Regions from separate parts of the Homo sapiens genome. Here all the other regions are linked to region 3. The links are contacts of gene promoters, found by promoter capture Hi-C in human tissues and cell types (Jung and others, 2019). All regions are on one chromosome and are shown on one strand. The core of a region is centred on a gene start or on the middle of the fragment in contact, and the rest is flanking DNA. Distances in the headings are between cores, read along the strand shown.

What was found. Contacts are between HindIII fragments. The study calls those that stand out against the background at their distance.
Region 1: a contact is called between a fragment that was not itself captured here and the fragment with the promoter of PLD5 in region 3, in 10 of the 25 tissues and cell types used here (H1 embryonic stem cells, bladder, dorsolateral prefrontal cortex and 7 more).
Region 2: a fragment that was not itself captured here is called in contact with the fragment with the promoter of PLD5 in region 3 in 4 of the 25 tissues and cell types used here (mesendoderm cells, ovary, small bowel and 1 more).

The regions. Positions count from the first base shown.
Region 1 is chr1:242,560,757-242,563,456 of GRCh38, reverse strand. No RefSeq gene overlaps it. Among named protein-coding and RNA genes, the nearest start is that of PLD5, 37 kb to the right of the region's middle. The HindIII fragment of the contact is 4,065 bases long and covers 1-2,700 here.
Region 2 is chr1:242,488,924-242,491,802 of GRCh38, reverse strand. The region is part of intron 1 of PLD5 (phospholipase D family member 5); the gene reads left to right. LOC105373234 (a long non-coding RNA gene) reads left to right here. Exons shown (of 3, transcript XR_949328.2): 2 at 522-615; 3 at 1,445-2,250. Among named protein-coding and RNA genes, the nearest start is that of PLD5, 34 kb to the left of the region's middle. The HindIII fragment of the contact is 5,746 bases long and covers 1-2,879 here.
Region 3 is chr1:242,523,426-242,526,125 of GRCh38, reverse strand. It overlaps PLD5 (phospholipase D family member 5), which reads left to right and starts at 1,429. Exons shown (of 10, transcript NM_001372062.1): 1 at 1,429-2,038. The coding sequence starts at 1,850. The HindIII fragment of the contact is 9,545 bases long and covers 1-2,700 here.

The DNA of each region.
Region 1 (2,700 bases), core at 172-2,671, 37 kb before region 3:
AAATGTTAATCTTTGGCAACACTCTCACAGACACACCCAGGAATAAGACTTTGCATCCCTCAATCTAATCAAGTTGACACTCAATATTAACAATCACCAACTCTTTATATTAATTACGGTGTTTGTGGCAAGATTTATTTTTTAGGCTCCCTCGTTTCATACATTTAGTCTCATTAAATCCTCAGTACAATCTTGTGAAGAAAGCAGGAGTTATTTTTTCCATCTAGTAAGTGTTGATTGTAGGAACGATGGACGATGGACTCCAAAACCAGCACCCCAGGCCCCACTCACTGTCTCTCATGTCAAGCCAGCATCTGTACTATAATCCCTGCCTCCTCTCCTGTTACTTTGGGTGAATTGTGTTTCTGTCTAAAACCAGCCCTTCCATCTGGGCGCTAGATCCCTTCTTTCTCACCTTTTCAAGTACGTCATTCCAACTAATCTTCTCTCTTTCTTCTGCACCATTGATTTTCTCCTCTGTACCTGGGCACTGTATCAGCATACAAATACGCTGCTACATATGGAAGCTTTAAACAATCCTCACTAGGCCCCCTGTCATGTTCTAGCTGCTTCCTCACTTTCTTTCTCCATGACACTTCAACAATTGATACTCATTGACTCTAATTCCTTATTGCCTAATGCTTCCTTCTTAAATATTTTTAAAAGGCATTTAACATAAAGACAAATGTTTTGTCTAATGTATCTAGCAATATAGTCCAGGCAGTATACAGAACATTTTCATCATCCTCCAAAAATTTTCTTATGTTCCTCTCCATTTAATTTCTTCTCCACTAGAGGCAATTGAGGTTCTGATTTCCATCATCGTAGATTTGTTCCACCTATTATTGAATTTTATACATGAGAAATTACACAGTATGGGTTCTGTTGTGTCTGGCTTCTTTGTCCAACACAGTGTGTTTGAGATTCATCCACATTGCTCATGCATCCGTAGTATGTAACAGTTTTATTGCCAAGTATTTTCTCATTAATGATTATTAAAATCCATTCTGCTATTGATGGACATTTTGGTTTCTTTCCAGTTTTTCACTGTTGTGAATAAAGCTTCTATGAACATTTGTGTATAGATCTTTTTGTGGACATATATGTTTTTCATTTCTCCACGATAAATATATTTAGGAGTGGAATTGTCTAATCAGAGGTATGTTTAACTCTATCAGAAACTGCCAGCTGGGTGTGGTGGCTCACACCTGTAATCCCAGCACTTTGGGAGGCAGAGGTGGGAGGACTGTTTGAGGCCAGGGTTCAGGAGAAGCCTGGTCAACATAGCGAGACCCCCATCTCTATTTTAGAAGATAAAAAAAATTAAAAGGAAACTGCCAACTCATTTTCCAAAGTGGTCATACCATTTTACATGCCCATCAGAAATACATACATTCGCAATTAATATCCTTTGTTTGTTTTTTAACAAATTTTGTGTTGTGTGGGCATGAAATAATATCTAATTATTGTATCAATCTGCATATACCTGATGTCTAAAGATATTGAGCATCTTCTCATGGGCTTACTGGCCATTTGTATGTTTCCTTTGTGAAATATCTTTAAATCTTTTGCTGATTAAAAAATATCAAGTTGTTTGTCTTATTGAATTATAAGTTATATTAGGTTTCCATTGATGTATGACACATTACCAAGGTCTTAGCAGTTTAAACAAGGTGCATTAATTTTTATTTTTTTGAGACAGTCTCACTCTGTCGCCCAAGGCTGGAGTACAGTAGCATGATCTCAGCTCACTGCAACCTCCACCTCCAAGGTTCATGTGATTCTCCTGCCCCAGACTCCCAAGTAGCTAGAACTACAGGCACATGCCACCACGCCCGACTAATTTTTGTATTTTTCATAGAAATGGGGTTTCACCATGTTGGCCAGGATGGCCTTGAACTCCTGGCCTCAAGTGATCCGCCTACCTCTGCCTCCCAGAGTGCTGGGGTTACAGGCATGAGCCACTGTGCCTGGCCCACAAGGTGCATTTATTATCTCATAGTTTCTGTGCATCTGGAGCCTGAGCATGATGGCTGAGCTGGGTTCTCGGCTCAGAGTGCCACAAGGCTGCAATCAAGGTGATGGCAGGGACTGGTTTTGTATCTGGAGCTCAGTGTCCTCTTCCAAGTTCATTCAGGCTGCTGGCAGAATTCAGTTCCTTGTGGTTGTAGGACTGAGAACCTCAGCTCCCAGAGGCCAGCCCTCTGTACAGATAGTTATGACATGACAGCTTGCATCTTCAAGGCCAGGAGGAGAGAGAGGATCTCTCCTGTTTTGAATCTCTTTTAAGAAGCTTACCACTCAAGGCAATCTTCCTTTTGATTAAAGTCAGCTGATTTTTGGCTTTAATTAAATCTGCAAAATCCTTTCATTTTGCCATGTACTGTAACATAACCACAGGAGTGGCATGCATCATATTCACATGTATAATTTCCTCCCCTTGGGTCTACCACACTCATATATGCCCATAGAAGGGCATATACACCTGGGGGCTGGAATCCTGGGGAACATGTTAGAATATCATATAAGAGATTCTTTTACACACACACACACACACCCTGAATTTAAGTCCTTTGCCAGATATGTCTTGCAAGTATTTCTCCCTGACTCTAGTTTCAGTACTTATTTGCTTAATGGTGCCTTTTGATGAGCATACGTTTTACATTTTAATATACAGCAATTTATCAAACATTTTTCTTC
Region 2 (2,879 bases), core at 282-2,781, 34 kb after region 3:
CAAGGGAAGTATTAGAGCATCTAAGGATGGCCTGAAGTAAATTATCAAAATGGAGAACACAGTGCCACAGAATGAGGACATAGAAAATCTGAAGACTGAGTTTCAGGAGAAAGAATGAGGCAACATAAAACTGACAAATGAGACTAGAGAAGGTTGAGAGCACAAGAAAACAATGGGATATCTGGAAAATTTTCTTTGTGGAGCAGAACCCAATTCATGATATGATTTAAATATTTAAAGTATTTAGATATAATATACGTGTTTACTATTTTTTGTTTTTCTACTGTCTTATGGAATTGAATTTTGAGTTCAGTGTAGCTGGACTATATCCACTGTGTTTGCCTTGTAAAGGGTTGACAGTGGTGTTTTCTAAGGCATCTATGTAATTGTGTGTTTATGTGTGTGTGTGCGCACATGCACACGTTTCTTCATGTATCTATTATACATATCTCTGTATCTAAATGTCTATCTATATATAAGTAATATGGAAAAGAGGAAGTTTTTTCAATGTTCTCTTCTAGAATTATGATCAACAACTCAGGAAAATACTCAACTTGAAAGAGATTAGTGAATGTGGACTCGAAAGGTCTAAGACAGAGAAAGAAGTTGCTGTAGGTAAGTATACTGAACTCAGAATATGAAAATGAACGAATATTAAAGCTGGAGAAGATGCCAAGAAATTCTAAGAATACAAGATTAGCAGTGGGAATTAGAAATATAATTTAGATCAGTTGAGCCTGAAGAATAACTTAGTGAAGATCAAGGGAATAAAATGTGTCTGAAAGGAGGAGACTGTCATGTCCCAAAGGTATATGTGGGGGGAAACATCAAAGCCTGGTGTGCAAGAAGCTCCTGCTAAGCCTTGTTATTCAAAATGTGCTTTACAAAGAGGAAGCAGGAAGGAGCATCACCACGGATTTTATTAGGAATGCAAAACCTAAGGCGCTCCTCCAAATTTTCGGAACCCCAGGGTCTACTGTTGCCAAGGCTTCAGGGAGCATCACAGTCTGAGAAGCATTAGGGTATGACGTAGCGGTAGGTTTTCTCTACACAGTATTAAAGAGATATTGAAATCCTCAAGATTAAAAAAGAGATGAACATTGAGGAATTCTGTAATGCAGATGTGGGTTCTACACAAAGGTTGCTGAGAACCGAGGCATTGCCATGTAGCCCCAATATTCAGTGTTTTAGAAATCAAGTTTATATAATAAATGAACGTTTTGATGCAGCAAATGAGGAACCTAGACATTCAGTGAAGAGAATTAAAAATATATGTTATTAAGAAAATGTGTAACTGAACAAAACCGAAGAGGGCCAAAAATTAGTAATCCTGTGTTCGAGGTATAGTTTTGAAAGTTTATATTTAAGAGAAAGACTGAAAGAAAATTTGTATGTGCACACATAATTACAATACAATTAAAAAATGGTATTTGGTTTATTTTAGAACACTTTTGCAAAACAGTGGTCTCCAAAGAGCCATGAAACAGCTTGCTGATTTTTGAATTTCTGGGTTTATTACAAATGACTACATAAAAGCCGTGTGGTAAGAAACGAACTTCTGGTAACAGATGGTGGAAAATCACCAGTAAGACCCAAACCTAACAGAGACTGCTTCTGGAGCCATGGTTCTCACTAAGGGTTATTAGCATCATTCTTTGATGATGGGCATTGAGGCATCAGAACTCATGGATATCACAGTTCCTGTGTGGAGAGGAAGCTTCAGATGGTGCTCTTGCACAGACGGGACTGCCATTCCCATTTTAGTGGATCTCTTAAAAGTTCGAATGGCTCCTCTAATGCCTGATGTGAATGGAACCTTTCTCTCTGCTTCAGTCAAGAATCTGGTGACAAAGAAGCTTCATCCTTTCAATCTTACAATTTCAATCTCCTATCTCAAGAAAGCTCATTTCTATGTATTACCAGTGCATCCTCCACATGCTCTTCTGCAGTTGTTCCTTCTGCGGGAAATGATCTCTCCTTTTGTCGAGGCTTGGTGAAATCCTTTGAAATTCTGTTGATTCTGTAAGAGCCAACACAAATACCAACTGCCCTGAATACTTTCTGGCTAAACTGCCACAATGAACGAGGATTCCTCACCCATGTCCCTCCCTTTCCCTTCCTTTCTTTTTATAATGGTATGCTTATTGTTTTTTAATGTAACATTTTTCTTACAAAAGGAATACACATTCAGTGTTAAAATGGAAATGTAGAAAAGTCTTCAGAAGAAAATAAAAATCACCTGCAAATCCATTTCCTGAAGTAATTATTTTTGCTAATGTTTTATTACAATATAGCTCATCCTCTTTCGCTGCCTCTTCCTCTTCTCTCTCCCTTCCTCCCTCCTTCCTGTCCTTCCTCTGTCTCTCCTTCCCTTTTTCTCTCTCTCTCTGGTTGCAGCATCTCTGTTTTTTCTCTGTTTTTTTTTTTAATCAAATGTATCGAGGTGTGACTTACATTCAATAAAATGCACAGTTAGATGAATTTTGAAAAATGTCATAATTCATATTACCAACATCTCAATCAAGATATATAATGCCTCCATCACCCCAAAAAGGGACGGATGATGGACTCACTCATGCTCCTCTGAAAAAAACCCTTTCCCAGCTCTCTGCCACTGATCTGGTTTCTGTCACTGGAGATGAGTTTTGCCTATACTAGGGCTTTGAATAAATAGGATCACAGAGCATGTACTCATTTGTGTCTGGCTTCTTTCACTCATTATCATATTTTTGAAATAGATCCATATTGGTGCAGATGTCAATAGTTCATTCCTTTGGTTTCTTACAGAGATTTACTTCCTCAAATATTTGCTTGATTTCACATTCTTGTTGCTACTATTACTAGAATTCATTTTCAAGTTTTAATCATCAGTACTATAA
Region 3 (2,700 bases), core at 180-2,679:
TGGCCTTCACAGCTTTTCAATCTGGTTCATATCCTTGTTTTGAAGTGTAATTTCTGCTTCTGCTTCACTTTCCTCACTGGAAAGGAGGGTTAATAACATTTATCTTGCAGGATAACATGAGACTTAGAGATAGCCCACAGGTCGGGGCATCTATTGCACAATATAGTTCAGCTCCTAAGAAAACCAACCTAGCACAACCAAAATGTGTGTATTTGTGTTTAGTTGTTTCATCCCCATATTGAATGTGCACAGGATTTTATTTCAACTACTATTTTTACTATACCATTTTTTTAAATGGAGACTTTGAAAAGATATGAAACACAATCCCTGTCCTCCTAAAAGTTTGTGAAATCCCAGCCAGAATGTCTTTGAAACCGTCATTCAAGTAGGGCAGTTCTGCCGAGGGCTAGAGAGCCTTCAGTTTACCCTTGGCAACACCCTCTAAAATCCCCTGTATACCTCTCCAGCTTCCATACACTTCCCAAGCTTTTAACCAGACACGAGACACCCTGAACACCAGCTGTTTAGCATTTAGATAAAACCAAAAAATGTTTCGAGAGGTTGACTCCAAAGATAGCAAAAGATGAAGAGATTGAAGATTTAATCGCGAACAAGCCACCCTATTCCTAATAATCATCACGCTTGGCTGGGCCCCGAAGGAAAAGCCTGGACCCTAGGGGCCTAGAAACAGAGAAAAGAAACAAATGCACAGCAGTTGGGCCACGTCCACCTAAGGAACAGTCACCGCACAAGCGGAGCGTTGCAGAGGAGCCCTGGATCACCCTCCCAGGATCGGAATGGGTGCGGCCCGGGGAGCCCGGTTCTAGGTGGACACCGAGGGCTGGGGAGCAACCGGTCCCGCGTGCCTGCCCGAGGGGCTACTGCCCCCGGGCGTATTTGCATCGCCACACCATCGGATGAAAGTAGCGTGTACGGCTCCAGAAAACACATGTCTCTCGGCTATTTTCAGGGGGGAATGCTGGGCACCCTCTGCTCTAAGTCCCTTGGGGTGGGAAGTTAGTGAACTTTCAGAATGGGGGAAGGCGCAGCCCAAGCGAGCCGGGGGCAGGGTGAGGGGGCGCCGCTGGATAGAGATGGGGGAAGGGCGGAGGTGGTTTCCTGAGTGTCTCCCTCCGGAGCCATCCCCGCGCTCAGCCAGCAGGACCGAGGAGGCGCGGAGACGGCGCTCACTTCTCCCCTCGCCTGCCGGCTTTCCAGTAAAGATGCGCCAGGGAGAGGTGTAGCCTGCTCGGGAAAGGCGGGTGCGGAGCGGGAGCGCGGCCGCCCGGGCCTGGGCGCGGCGGGAGGGGCGGCGGCGGCTCCTCACTGCACCAACCTGCAGGCGCGGGCTGGCTGGGCCAGCCGCGGCCCCTCCCACCGCACCCCACCCCCGCCGCCGCCGCCGCCCCGGGAGCCGGCCCGGGTCCCAGTAGGTGCCGCAAGGAGCCGGCGAGCGGAGCGCCCGCTCGGGACCGCAGCCGCCGGGCGACGTCGCCGCCGCACCGGGCACTTCTGTCTCCCCGGAGCAGGTTCCTTTCCCTCCCTGTCCCCTCTCGTCCCCCTTCTCCCCGTCCGTCCCCCTCCGCCCCCGCCCCCGCCCCCGCCCGCACCTCGCCCTCCCTCCTTCCGCCCCGCGCCTCCCGCGATCGCCCCCTCCCGCCCGGCCGCGCTCCCAGCTGGCGCTCAGCACCCCGCGCTCCCCGCGCCCGCTCGCTCCTCCAGCTCCTCCAGCTCAGTCTCCAGCTCCACCTCCGGCTCCCGCTGGGCCTCCCGCTCGCCCTCCGCGCCCGGCTCCCCGCGCGCCCGTCCCGAGTCCGCTGCTCGCCGGCGGCCGCCCGGTCATGTCAGGATGGAGATCCGGCAGCACGAGTGGCTCTCGGCCTCCCCCCATGAGGGCTTCGAGCAGATGAGGCTCAAAAGCCGCCCCAAGGAGCCCTCCCCAAGCCTGACCCGAGTGGGCGCGAACTTCTACAGCAGCGTCAAGCAGCAGGACTACAGCGCCAGCGTCTGGCTTCGGAGGAAAGACAAGCTGGAGCACGTAAGGGCGACTCGCTCCCGGGGGCCTCGGCCAGGCACCTGCCGCATGCACCCTCCCCGTGGTGGTGGCATGAGCGCGCGCGGGGCGCGGGGGGCAGGCGAGGGGATCCTGGCAGGCGCCGACGTCCTAGGTCGGATTCGGGGGCTTCTCTGCCTGCAGTTTCTTGCCTTAATGACCGGGCTGCGGGGAGGGGAGGGCAGGTTCCCTTTCAGGCTCTTGGTCCCTGCCGACCCGACCTGCCCACCTGCGTCTCCCGGTAGGGTTCATTTGCACGGGGTTCTGGAGGTGCCTGTGCAGAGTGAGCACGAAGGGGAAGTGCCACCAGCGTGGCTCCGAGCAACCTGGCGTTGCATGGTAGTGGGCTTTAGAGCGGCGTTTGCCCGCGTCTTTGGGGGCTGTTTTACTCAGTCCAAAAACTAGCAAATTAACGAATGAGTAAAGTTGGCGCCGCTAGCGACCAGCGTGGACCCGCGCACAAGCCATTAGAGTTTTTTGCAGAGTGTCCGCTGGGATGAGCAGTTGGTGATCCTCTCTACTTGAGCCCAACTAGGGAGAGATTTGCGCGTTGCAAGGAGAAAGGCTAAAAGCGAGCGGATCGTCGGGCTCCCCAGAAATCCTCCCCTCTGGAGGGTGGGAGCCGGTGAGAGGGGACCTCTACTCCC